Linked DNA regions of Homo sapiens: all the other regions are linked to region 3. Evidence: promoter capture Hi-C in 16 types of primary human blood cells and fetal thymus (Javierre and others, 2016). All regions are on one chromosome and are shown on one strand. Each heading gives the region's core, a stretch centred on a gene start or on the middle of the fragment in contact. The rest is flanking DNA. Distances are from core to core; before and after follow the strand shown.

The links. The method cuts DNA at HindIII sites, captures the fragments that hold promoters and counts their contacts. A CHiCAGO score of 5 or more calls a contact.
Region 1: a contact is called between a fragment that was not itself captured here and the fragment with the promoter of FAM169A in region 3, in 1 of 17 cell types (erythroblasts). The highest score is 5.1, in erythroblasts.
Region 2: a fragment that was not itself captured here is called in contact with the fragment with the promoter of FAM169A in region 3 in 1 of 17 cell types (fetal thymus); the score reaches 7.6 in fetal thymus.

The regions. Positions count from the first base shown.
Region 1 is chr5:73,908,398-73,912,973 of GRCh38, forward strand. ARHGEF28 (Rho guanine nucleotide exchange factor 28) reads left to right here. Exons shown (of 36, transcript NM_001177693.2): 34 at 1,015-1,500; 35 at 2,878-3,178. Among named protein-coding and RNA genes, the nearest start is that of LINC02122, 190 kb to the right of the region's middle. The HindIII fragment of the contact is 461 bases long and covers 2,476-2,936 here.
Region 2 is chr5:73,891,002-73,895,335 of GRCh38, forward strand. It overlaps ARHGEF28 (Rho guanine nucleotide exchange factor 28), which reads left to right. Exons shown (of 36, transcript NM_001177693.2): 27 at 1,051-1,229; 28 at 2,196-2,287; 29 at 3,392-3,574. Among named protein-coding and RNA genes, the nearest start is that of LINC02122, 210 kb to the right of the region's middle. The HindIII fragment of the contact is 1,985 bases long and covers 1,082-3,066 here.
Region 3 is chr5:74,863,827-74,868,042 of GRCh38, forward strand. FAM169A (family with sequence similarity 169 member A) reads right to left here and starts at 2,561. Exons shown (of 13, transcript NM_001376049.1): 1 at 2,339-2,561. It overlaps FAM169A-AS1 (FAM169A antisense RNA 1), which reads left to right and starts at 2,067. Exons shown (of 1, transcript NR_134288.1): 1 at 2,067-3,449. RefSeq lists silencers at 2,008-2,177, 2,248-2,497. The HindIII fragment of the contact is 5,081 bases long and covers 1-3,686 here.

The DNA of each region.
Region 1 (4,576 bases), core at 1,456-3,955, 960 kb before region 3:
AATTTATCCCTAGGAGAGAAATGATTTCTCATATGGGGTCAAAACATACACACATACTCAGTATGTGTCCATTTTCAATTTGTCCCTTCTGTACTGCTTTGCACTCTAAATGGGAACTTTTAAAATTAAAAGCTTCCAAGGGCATTCACAGAGATCTCTTTGGTTTTGTGGAATCCTTCCAAATCTTGGTAATTATTTCCTGTGATGTTGCCAAACTTTTCATAGGCAGATACCGTAACTCAAAATGTTTTTTTAATCTGGTTGGTAATGTCCTCTGGGCTTTAGAGTATCTATTTTCCCTTAATCATTTCAGCCTCCTGTTAGCGATCTATTAAACAAATAAATTTCAGCTTAGTTTTTTGTGCATGACCTTCCTGCTATAATACAAAGATATAACAGTAATGAGACTAGCTTTAGCCACTTACATATCTCCTAAAAATGGTATTAACTGCTATTCTTAGGCATTATGTTATAAAAACATTATTTACCTAAAGTCTCCAAATAGTTGTTTTTTATTTTTATGTCTTCATAATGCAATGTAGCTCAAGTAATTTCTGGTTTGGGACTCAAAGGAAGGATACTACTAGGTTTATGTGGATTCTTAAGTTCTCATGAATGATTGACTAGGGAGAGACCTCAGCAAGAGAGTGAGATGTAGGACAGGAATGCACAGCCTTGTGAATTTATGTGCCGAGTTCGTATTCAGAAGACTCGCTTAACTATCACCCAACCACCAGCAGCAAACTACCTTCCCACAGGAGAGGATGATATTGCTTTTGGGCTTTGTTTCTTTTCTCTATAAATTCACAGGTCCTACCCCTAGGACAGATGTAGACACACCTCTCTGGAACGCCAAAAACCTTGCCTTTGGAGGTAACTTAGAAAAAGGCCAGAAATATTAAGAGAAGTGAATTCGGGCCTGCGTTTTGTGTTTCGAGGTAGTTCCAACCGAAAGGGTAAACAATAACCATGGAACCTTGTGTTCAGTGATTTTTCCTCTGTCTGCTCTGACAGGCCGCCTTGACCATTCAGGACAGCCACATTGAGATCCACAGGCTGGTTCTCCAGCAGCAGGAGGGCCTGTCTCTCGGCCACTCTATCCTCCGAGGCGGCCCCTTGCAGGACCAGAAGTCTCGCGACGCGGACAGGCAGCATGAGGAGCTGGCCAATGTGCACCAGCTTCAGCACCAGCTCCAGCAGGAGCAGCGGCGCTGGCTGCGCAGGTGTGAGCAGCAGCAGCGGGCGCAGGCGACCAGGGAGAGCTGGCTGCAGGAGCGGGAGCGGGAGTGCCAGTCGCAGGAGGAGCTGCTGCTGCGGAGCCGGGGCGAGCTGGACCTCCAGCTCCAGGAGTACCAGCACAGCCTGGAGCGGCTGAGGGAGGGCCAGCGCCTGGTGGAGAGGGAGCAGGCGAGGATGCGGGCCCAGCAGAGCCTGCTGGGCCACTGGAAGCACGGCCGGCAGAGGAGCCTGCCCGCGGTGCTCCTTCCGGGTGGCCCCGAGGTATGGACCTTCTGCGGTGCTGTGAGGCAGCCTCTCAAAGACAGGGGTGGGCCTGGGGGCTCCTAGGACACTAACCAAACATCTGTCATTTTGGATTTGTGTAAGAAGACCTCATGAGGATTTTTCAATTTGTAGGTAGCCAAAGCTGGAAGCTTTCAGAGATAACGCATATCCATTTTGACTTAAAATATGGACAGTGCGGGCCAGGCGCGGTGGCTCATGCCTGTAATCCCAGAACTTTGGGAGGCCGAGGCGGGAAGATCACCTGAGGTTGGGAGTTCGAGACCAGCCTGGCCAACATGGTGAAACCCCGTGTCTACTAAAAATACAAAAATTAGCTGGGCTTGGTGGCGGGCCTCTGTAATCCCAGCTACTCAGGAGGCTGAGGCAGGAGAATCACTTGAACCCATGAGGCGGAGGTTGCAGTGAGCCGAGATCACGCCATTGCACTCCAGCCTGGGTGACAAAAGTAAAACACCATCTCAAAAAAAAAAAAAAAAAAAAAAAAAGGACAATGTGAGGGCCCAAGTCCTATGGGATCACTGCACTCTGCCTGAGATGCCCTTACCCTAAGGAACAAACACAGAATCAAGTTGTCCTAGAAAGGCCAGGGTGGGTTTGTCCTGGAGGCACACTCACTGCGAGCGTGCTCTTTTTCCAGTATTTGAAGGACTCTCTTTATATGATCTGTCTTAAGAGTTCTATTAGATGTAGCTTTTAGAAGATCAATTAACTATGAATATATACTATAGGCACTGAATTTAGCAAGTATAGTACTATTCTGTTATGCTGAGCTTCTTCTCTCTTTGTAAATTTGATATAGTAAATTCAAAATCCATTTCACTAATAAGAGTTATTTATTTGTGTCTTTTCTAATCATGCTTGAGAATCCTATTCGTCCCAGAAATTTATTTTCCTGTGTTATGTGCATGTATGTTTTTTTACTGATAGTGCCTAAAGTTGTAGAAGTTGATAAGCTTACAAGATCTCTGTTGCAATCTGTTTTTCCTTTTAAGTTGGCTAAATTATGTTTATTGCAAACTCCTCATGTATATATGGATATGTTTTCAACTTTTTTATTTAGCAAAAGTAAAAACTGCTGCTTTCTCTGATTAAAATAAAGTGGAAACACTTTAATGTCATAGAGTGCCACTTTTTTTGTTGTTGTTGTTAAAGATATGCCATGCATAGCAAATTGAAGTTTTTGGTACTAGCTCATTAAAAGAGTATGGGAGAGGGGAGGGAGAAAAGAAGTGGTAATCTTGACCTCACTTTTACTGAAATCTTGATTCCTAAGATTCTCTCAGGAATAAATACTTTATGAAACTTGTATAAGTTAGAAAAATTATTGTACTTTTCCTCTGTTTCTTTACACAGGTAATGGAACTTAATCGATCTGAGAGTTTATGTCATGAAAACTCATTCTTCATCAATGAAGCTTTAGTACAAATGTCATTTAACACTTTCAACAAACTGAATCCATCAGTTATCCATCAGGATGCCACTTACCCTACAACTCAATCTCATTCTGACTTGGTGAGGACTAGTGAACATCAAGTAGACCTCAAGGTGGACCCTTCTCAGCCTTCGAATGTCAGTCACAAACTGTGGACAGCCGCTGGTTCCGGCCATCAGATACTTCCTTTCCATGAAAGCAGCAAGGATTCTTGTAAAAATGGTAATTAACACTTTAAACATCATCTGTATAGTTTGAACAAGAAGTTGTCCCTCTGAATGGTTGGCTCTTGTGTAGAGTGAATCAAAGTCCTCCCTAGCATGGGAATAAATCGGTACTGATGAGCTGGAGTTTGTGGCATTCACTTTTCTTTGGGGAAGTCTGGGGACAGCCTTTGCTTGTAAGTTACCTAGACAAGTGAGACCATGGTCATAGGGCTTAGAGAATGCTCACAACATGTGAGAACCAGACAGGATTTTTAGATGTGTGGGTTAAAATAATAATGTCCTCTTAAAAGTAAAGCAACTTGATATTTACTCCCCACTATTGTGGACCCCACTACATCCTGAAACACCTATGTTGACACTCAGAAATAATAACAGATACCAACAGGGTTGGTAGTGGGACTTTATCAGGGCAATTTCCTGTAACGTTAGTGAAATCTTCTGTACTGCTATTAAACACCCAAAATGAAACTGTTAACATCATTTGTCATTGTAAAAAAAAAAAAAAGTGTTGTCTCTCCATAAGTACCTCATAATAACACAATTTGCTAATCCCATTAAAGCATTTGCCAAGTATAAATGAAAGGCAGCTCGTGTTACCAGCTCCACATGAATCCGAATGATTTAAATCTATGTCTATTATAAATTGTTTTCTGGGGGATATGAGGTAGGGAATGAGAAGAACTTGAAACCTCTCTACCGAAAAACAGATGGCATGCAATAGAATAAACAAATGGCTGGCCACATGGATGTGAAATAAATCACCCACAGCAAAATGTTTCAGAAACATAAAACAAGCAGTAGTATAGAAGTCTTCAGAACTGGATACAGATTTGTTTCTATGCTTAATATATATTCTTAGTTTGTCAGTTGGAGGATAATTTTTCAGCAACAAAAAGGTTTGAAGGTATTTGGCTTCTCCCAATTCAAGAGTAATAATTCTGATACTGCTTATAAGTTGATTTATTACTGATCCAAAAGATGTTGATTCTTAATAGTGGCTAATTCTTTACATTACTTAAGTCACCGTGGTAACATTCTTCTTTCTTGTCAGCATATAGGAGAGAATGAAATAGTTTTTTAAAGTATTATTTCAGATATTCTTTAGGTAAAGAAAAAATATGATGGAATCGTTCAGATTAAATAAAAGGTCAAGCCAAATTTTGAAAAATGTAACTTCTTTAATATATTATCTTACAACTTTACTACAATAGAGAGCAGATTGCAGAATTCTTTTTCTAAGCACATGTTGCTTTGCTGTGTTGGTTCATTAATCTGCTATTTACAGTGCTTCATGTGGTTTTGTCAGCATGGTTTTACATACTGGCTTTGGTATAATTCCGAAACTCAGTTTGAGTTAAACCACATTCAGCTTTTGTTTAAAAGAAGCATGTCT
Region 2 (4,334 bases), core at 824-3,323, 970 kb before region 3:
CATGGCGTACATGCCAAATTTTAGACTTTCTTCCTATTACCCTGTGGTGGACTTATGTGAAACTAGTCCTACCAACATTTATTGAGTGCCTACTCTATGCTTGGCTATGTGCTAGGTGCATGAAGATGAATGAGACCCATTCCCACCCACCAAGGGCTCATCTGCTTGGTGAGAAGAGGCAAGAACTTGTAGACCATTTTGTTGCTGTGACCCACATGACAGTAGCAAAAAGGATTGGTTACGCCTGGGGAATCAAAGGTCTTGCCACTTATTCGTATCTTTTGTAGTCACTTTTATAGTCCATGGGCTGGGCTTCTGAGTTTCTGGGCTTCTGTTCCGTCACCTTATTGAAAGAGTATTGCAAGTCTAATGGACTTTTTAGGGCCTCCCTCCTTCTCAGTCTCTTTGACATTTGACATAGTTTCCTATCTCATGCTCTCTTAGAAAAACTTCTCCTGCCTTGACTATGGCATTTTGATATTTTTCTTCTCTGATTGTTCTGTCTTTTAAAAAGTTCAGTTTTTAAACAACCAATTCCTTTTTTTTTTCTTTTTTTGAGATGGAGTCTTGCTCTGTTGCCCAGGCTGGAGTGCGCTCACTGCAACCTCTGCCTCCCAGGTTCAAGCAATTCTCATGCCTCAGCCTCCCAAGCAGCTGAGACTACAGGCGCACACCAGCACATCTGGCTAATTTTTGTGTTTTTAGTATAGATGGGGTTTCACCACATTGGCCAGGCTGGTCTTGAACTGCTGACCTCAAGTGATTCACCTGCCTCGGCCTCCCAAAGTGCTGGGATTACAGGAGGGAGCCGTTGGGCCCGGCCTAAACCACCAATTCTTAAGGATGAGCATGCCTATAATTCCTCTTTTTCCATCCTCTCTTTTCCATACCGTCTCCATTGGAGATTGTATCAACTTCTACAGCTCTTTTGAAAAGATTGGAAGTGGAGAAAGGTTTACCTAGTACTCTTGCTTCCTTTAGCTCATGTTTTACGGAGCCTTACTTTAGCTAGGATGCTGTTTCATCTGCTCACCTTCCTATTTTATGTAGGATCAGAAGCCATCAGTTATTTCCCTTCAAAAGCTTATTGCTAGAGAAGTTGCTAATGAGGAGAGAGGAATGTTTCTGATCAGTGCTTCATCTGCTGGTCCTGAGATGTATGAAATTCACACCAATTCCAAGGAGGAACGCAATAACTGGATGAGACGGATCCAGCAGGCTGTAGAAAGGTAACATTTCCTTCCGTCCATAATCTATGGAACAGAGTTGTTCAACTGGGGAAAATATTCTAACCATGTCTTCCTGCATGAAAACTTTGCCTCTGCCAGAATGGTCTGCCCCCTGCCCCCTGCACCTGCCTGCGATAGCCCCCCATCTGCAGCTTTCTCCTCCACGCCTCCCTGCATGTAATGCCTGCACCTCCCTCTGCCTGTGTGCACCCTGCCGGGCGTTGATGCAGCTCGGGCCTCCCCTCCTCCATGAGGACCCCTTCAGTCCTGGTGATCTCTTTCTTGCCTGAAATTCTTTAACACCTGCTCACTAAAGCATTTACTTGATGCTTCTTATATACTGCCTTGTAGCTATTATCTTTTTTATGTACATATGTGTGTGTTTATTTAATTAGATTGGAAGCTCCTCGAGGGCAGGGTTCATGTCTTATGTTTCTCTGTGTGCCTAGTGCTGAGAAATCATTCAATAAATGTTTCTGAATTGGTGGATCTAAGTATTCTAAGTCAATTTATTCCTCATTACTTGTGCAAGGACAGTTTTTATAATTGGGAGCACAAGGGTGGGGGTGATCATTCTCAACAGTAGTTTGATTAGTTAGATCCTGAAGTTATATAAAATTTCTCTACCTCTACTGCACCCCATCTGCCCTGGCACCCCACTTCTATCCTTTACAATTCTTATACTTTATTCCCATTATGGGTGTGTGTGGTGAGTGTATGTTTGTGTTCACTGGAATATTTGAGTCATCCCACACCACCGATTTTGAGAGCCATGTAATGTTATGCAAGATTCTTTGTATTCTCAAGAAAACCAAGTCTCTGGCCAGGGGGGATGATGCATTCCCTTTATGCTGAAATTTTCTCCTTTATGAATAAATCTATTGCCAAGTTCCCATGTTTTTCTAATGAATCTACAGATACTTGCATTTGGTTTCAGTTGTGTCTCTTGACTATTGTCTTTTAAAGTTGTCCTGAAGAAAAAGGGGGAAGGACAAGTGAATCTGATGAAGACAAGAGGAAAGCTGAAGCCAGAGTGGCCAAAATTCAGCAATGTCAAGGTACAGTGCAGGCACTTCTGGCTCCCTGGTCGTGGTGTTCTCCTGGGTGTTGGGAAAGCCTGAGTGTCATGAACAGGAGGTTATAACTACATGATTCATCCTGTGCACCTGAGGCCCACCTGGACCACCCTCCCGAGAAACTTACACTAGAAATGCTCAAATAAGATGACATTCTCTTCACTTCCACCTTAGTGATTAAAATGGATGTAAAAAATGCACATAACATATATGAAACAACAGCTGTGGGCAGTGTGGTGCAGATGAATGTTGGAATTATTTGTCTCATGGTTTAATTTTAGGTCTCAGCACTGTCATGTCAATGACTTTGGACAAGGAACCCAACAGATCTTGTCCCCAGTTTGCAAGTGTGTGAAAGAAGGAGATTAGACTAGCTCAGTGATTCTCTACTCTGGTTGGACACTGGAATCAGTTGAGAGGTCTTTAAAAATACGGATGCCTGGGCCTCACCCTCCACCGATTGAATCCGAATCTGTGGCAGGTGGGATGTAGACTTTGGGGTTTTCAGCTCTCCCAAGGTGACTTTGAAGCACAGAGGGGACTGAGAATTCCTGGATTCAATGCTAGTTAAGGTCCCTTTGAGCTTTAAGAATTCTGTAACATGTTGAAATCTGAGGACAATGATGCATGCAAAGATGGGCAAAGAAATTGGATGTTTAGAAACAAAAACTTAAACCAGTATGTTTGGTTTAGCCTGTGCCGTTCCAGGCATTTGTATTGTTCACTCATCATGGACAGGGCCGCCTCAATTTTCATTCCTAAGCTTAATGTTTAGTCTTAATAGAAAACAGCCTGAACAAACAAAGAATAGCTTTGCAAATTTTCTGGAAGTAGGGGACTGAGAAAGGAACCTTATTTACAGAAAAGACAATGGAAGCTGAGAAAGTTGTTAAGTCACTTGCTGGAGGCCACAGTCACTAAGTGGCATGGTCAGGACTGAGACCTGCATCTGCCCCACTCATCAACCTGGGTTTTCTCTTGGAGGTCTTACTGCTTGCTAATTAGCAACATCTTTTTCGTGGACTTTCACATTAGTGGTTGTATTCATGTTAGTGATAATCTTCTATGGTAAATACTATTTCATAGAAATACTCACTAACCAAGACCAACAAATTTGTGCGTATTTGGAGGAGAAGCTGCATATCTATGCTGAACTTGGAGAACTGAGCGGATTTGAGGACGTCCATCTAGAGCCCCACCTCCTTATTAAACCTGACCCAGGCGAGCCTCCCCAGGCAGCCTCATTACTGGCAGCAGCACTGAAAGAAGGTAAACTGCTGTGAGAAGGGTTTGGGTCGACACGTTCAGAAAATGTTTATTGAACACCTGCTAAGTGCCATGCACTGTGGTCTTGGTGCTGAGGATACAGCAGAACAAGACAAGGTCCTTACTCGGCTGGAACTTATATTTCTAGAAATAGCCAAATATAAAGAAAGAAATATGTCAGGTTGTATCAAGTGCTATGAAGAAAAATAAGCAGGATAAGGGAGAGAGAGGGTGATGGAGTTGGGATCGCTCTGTTTTAGATAGGGTGGCCAGGGAAGGCCTCTTTGATATAATGATATGTAAGTGGACATGAAGGAAGAAAGCTAAGTGGTATCTTGAGGGAGAGTCTTCCAGGCGTAGGGAATGGCCGGCACAAAGGTCCTGGTGCATGGAAGTGCCAGGCTCGCCTGAGGAGCAGGCAGGGGGACAGCACAGGCTGAGGGAAGGGAGGGTGGGGTGAGCAGTGCAGGCGATGAGTCCAGGGTTCACTAGGTCTCAGGTTGCATGGCGGGAGAGAAGGACTTGGAATTTCATCCTGAGTGGGATGGGAAGCATTAGAGAATTTTGAGTGGAGGAGGGACTTGACTTGTGGTTTGAAAGGTACCTCCTGACTGCTGTGTGGAGAATAGACTTAAGAGGGTGAAGTGCAGATGTTGGTAATAACAATGGGAGATGGTGGCCGAGGTTGGGTGAAGGGCAAGGTCATTGGAGATGAGAAAGTCCAGAGGATGAGAGGCCAGGGTGGTGGAAGGACTAAGTTTAT
Region 3 (4,216 bases), core at 1,311-3,810:
CAATGTAAAAGTTTAAGAGTTGTGTTTGACTCAGCACTGTTATTTGCTAGAAAAAAAAAAATCTCATTCCCCATAGGCCTAGGATAGGTCCAGACAGGTCACCTGCAATCTCTAGCAGGCAATCTTTGCTTACTTAAATTCCCTAAACCAAGACTCATCTCTAAATGTCCAAGGTTCTTCTCGCCTCCATAATTCTCCCTATAGAATAAACATATCTATAATGGGAAGCACGATATTTTTGCCAGGGATGGTACACAATATGTAATCACTTGTTTGAAGACAAAATTAGTGGGAGAGTCTTCAACAAAACAGAAAATAAATAGTTTAATTTAATAAGGAGGATGGCATGGAAACTTTACCTCAAAAGCACTTAATTATTTTGTTTTCTCCAAATCAAAATCCTTTGTTGGATATATATTCCATCTTGGTGTTTCACTGTTGTTGCCCAGGCTGGAGTGCAAGGGCACGATCTCGGCTCACCGCAACCTCTGCCTCCTGGGTTCAAGTGATTCTTGTGCCTCAGCCTCCCGAGTAGCTGGGATTACAGGCATGTGCCACCACACCCGGCTAATTTTGTATTTTTAGTAGAGACGGGGTTTCACCATGTTGGCCAGGCTGGTCTTGAACTCCTGACCTCGTGATCCACCCGCTCTGGCCTCCCAAAGTGTTGGGAAAACAGGTGTGAGCCACCGCACCCGGCCTATATCCCATCTTTATTAAATAAATACCACTTGTAATGACATGAATACTATCTCAAAGGTCAGACTAATTTGAAGCCTTTTAGAACCTAAAATCCACAGGTAAAACACCTTAATTTATGGTCACTCATGTGGAAGGTCAATGTTGCTACTCACATAAGCTATTTCTAAGTTCCCCAAACAGATCCCCATCATTAACTTAGAGAAAAGTCCACTATAATAGCTACAAGATTTCTGTGAAAGACGATCATGTTTTATCTTTGTTTGCGCTTCAAGTGTTAGGATAAACGGACTTTTCCCAGGTGCCTCTCACCATCTCATTCCTTGCCTTTCCTCCAAAACAAGCAAAACTAAAACACTAAAAATTTTAGTCTGGTCCATACTAGTCAATAAAAATCTTTCCTCTTGTAAACACTTTATAGCACGATAAGGGACGTAGTTTGCAAAGATCATCTGTACATCCTGTGTAAAAAATAAAAACGCATGGCACACCAAACCCAGATCCACTTCGGTGAATTCCCTCCAGGGCCCAAATGTGTGCATTATGCAACAGCCAGCACTCCCGATTGTAATCCCTGTCTGTGATGCAATGACAAAATATAAATGGCTTGGGTATAATCTGCTCAGTTCGTAAGTAGTAATTCGCAAGAAGCCAACGAATTAAAAGAATTCCCAAATTCTCAGGAACCTTGAAAATGACAAATTGTGTCACAGTTCTGTGAGAATCACAATGAAAACTTTCCCTTCTGGAAATTTTTTAGAAATATGTCCCTCCGGTCCCAATCCCCCAAAAACCCGTACACACGTTTTAATTTACGTTAGGAACGGCTCTCCCAGCGGGGGAAGGTGACCTGCATCAGGTGGTTATCTTCGAATCCACCCGATACGATACCCACGCCGCTTCCCAGACGCTGAAAAGCCAGTGAGATGCTTCATCCTTTCTCCCCAAGGACAGTCATGGGAGTCAGTGTAATCCAGACCCCCGAGCCATAAACCACCCAGGGTTCAAGGCTTCACCTCCTGAGGCACAGGCCTCTTGAAAAATGGCATAATGGAGAGCTGAGAACACAATTAGGACAAAACTGCAACGACCAGCATTCCAGAGGAGGGAGAATCATACAATATCTGTTCCAAAAGTAGTTACAGGTAAAGGAAGGCGGTCAGAGCATCTCTGGAGGCCACCTGGTCGGGTGAACCGAGTCTAAACGCTGAAGTTCCACACCTCCCCGAGTCCGCGTCTCCCCAAGCCAAAGCAATCAGCTCGCACGCCAAGCATCCAGGTGGGGAGAGGGCGAGGGGAGGGGGCGGCAAGCCGCAGCTGCGAACCGGCCCGCGGCGGAGGCGAGCGAAGACGGGCATTCCCTCACACAAAATGGTGGCGCCGAGGCGGAGGCCGGCGCACCTGGGGGCGCCACACGCCCTACGGGATCCCCGCAGACCGCCGCCAGCTGGACGCGAGCCCCGGGTCCAGGCGGCCCGCACTGGTCTGCGCCAGGCCCAGCCCGCAGGGGCCGCCCACAGCCGGTGGCCCGCGTCGCCGCTCGGTGTCCGCGGGTCTGGTGCTGGCGGGGGCGCGGGGCCCGGCGCGGCCGTCTCGGCCTCACCCAGCGGTCCGCGCCGGGGAGAGGGAGCGCACTCACCTCAGACGCGCCCCGGGAGCCGCTGGAAGAGCCCGGGAAAGGAGGCGGAGCCGCGCGAATGAATGGAGCCGGCGGCTGCTCGCTGGCGACCTCCGGCCGGTCCCAGGCCGCACAGCTCGCGGCTGCCAGGGCGAGTGCGGCTGCCTCCCGCTCGCCCCGGACGCCCGGCTCCTCGTCGCGGGTCGGCCGCGGCCCACCGTGCCCTCCGACGACGTGACGCACTAGCGCCGCAGCGCCTCCAGCCTTCGCTTCCGCTCCGCGCCCGCGCCCACCGCGAATCCCCCCGCCCGCCAGCGCGGAGCGGCCCCTCCTCGGAGCCTGGGACGCCGCCCTGCCTCCCTCCAGCCCCGGCTTTCAGGCGCCGGCCCGGCAGGTGCGGGCTTGGCCAGCCCGGGGGCGTCACGCGGCCCCCGCCTCGCCACCCGCGCCCCCTCTCTCCGCCCCGGCCGCCGTCACCCGGCAGCGCGACGCCCAGCTCAGGGCAATGGCCTGGTATTAAAGAGTGACCTTGGCTTAGATATAAAAATAGATGCGGTTAAGCCGCGGGGGCTGCAACGCTGATTTTGCGTATTCCTTTAATGCCGACCTTCGCAGGATTCTGTTCGCATAGCCCGGTGGAGTTCTCCAGCCCCGCGTAGGCCCTCCTGAAATTTACCCAGAGTGGGCGCGGCCATCCCGGCCTCGGGACAGGGGTGCAGAGGGCACGGGCGAGGACCGCCGGCCTCCGCCCCACCACTTTCATCCTAAACCTACTGCCACTTAGGTGCATGCAAGTTAGAATCGTGGGCTGCTTTCACAGTCTACAGAAGTCCTAGAGCCCGGACTTTCATCTGGAGATGTCAGGGAAATACCACATTCCTGCGCTGACCTTTTCTCTTTCACCGTTTAACCGGTACAGAATAACCCTGACCCAGAAAGACAACAGGGTTCCATCCGGCTTTCCTCCCGTGCCTCTCCCAGCTCTATTCTACCGTCTTATGGCCTCTGGCGCCTTTGCTAATTACACACTCCTACTGAAAATTAGCCCTCCAGCATTTAAAACATGATAAATTGTCTTTAAGGTAATGCGTATTGTAGTCTAAATATATTTAATAACTGTATTGAGAAACAATATTGTATCTAAGTATTAATGTCAAGACTTTCTTTTACTCATCATCCAAGAACCGTAGTATTATGTTCAGCTCATCCAGAAAAGTTGAAAATTGCTTCTTTCATTCCTGGGAAATATTTAGCAATCACAATACCAACTTTCACGAATTTACTAATGATTAGCAAAATTAGCAAGATCAAAAAATACTTCAAAGAATGCTTGTTGATATAGATATATTTGACCCTGATTTTTAAAAAAAGCTTTTCTGCCATATAAGAATCTATTGTTTCATTTGTATAATATTTAATTAGCCAAAATCTTTACTATTACACATCATTTACCATTTTAATGAAACTTAATGAATTAGATTTAATAGAGCAGGAATTTTGGGTAGTTGGGTTCTACCCATAGCCAGTGATGAATGAAATTATATGACTTGTATTTACATTTCTAGAGCTATGTGTAAGTAGGAGTCCCCAGGGTAATCCCAAACAATTGCCATTTGGGGAAGCTTTGGCTACCAGACTATGCCCTACAGATGTTGAAGCCTCAGGCCTTAGTGTAAAGCTAACCAATACAACTTGTTGATAATATTTGAAATGCCTGGGTGTGATTGACTCTTAGCTATTGTTTTAGAAGTATGCGGGTATTTGTGCCTGGGTCAGGGAGGCCTGGCTCCCAGATGTCTGGCTATTCTGGTAGGAGACAGAACTACATTCACCCAGACCTATAAAAGAAAAGGTCCAATTTTTTTTTTTTTTTTTTTTTTTTTTTTTGAGACAGGGTTT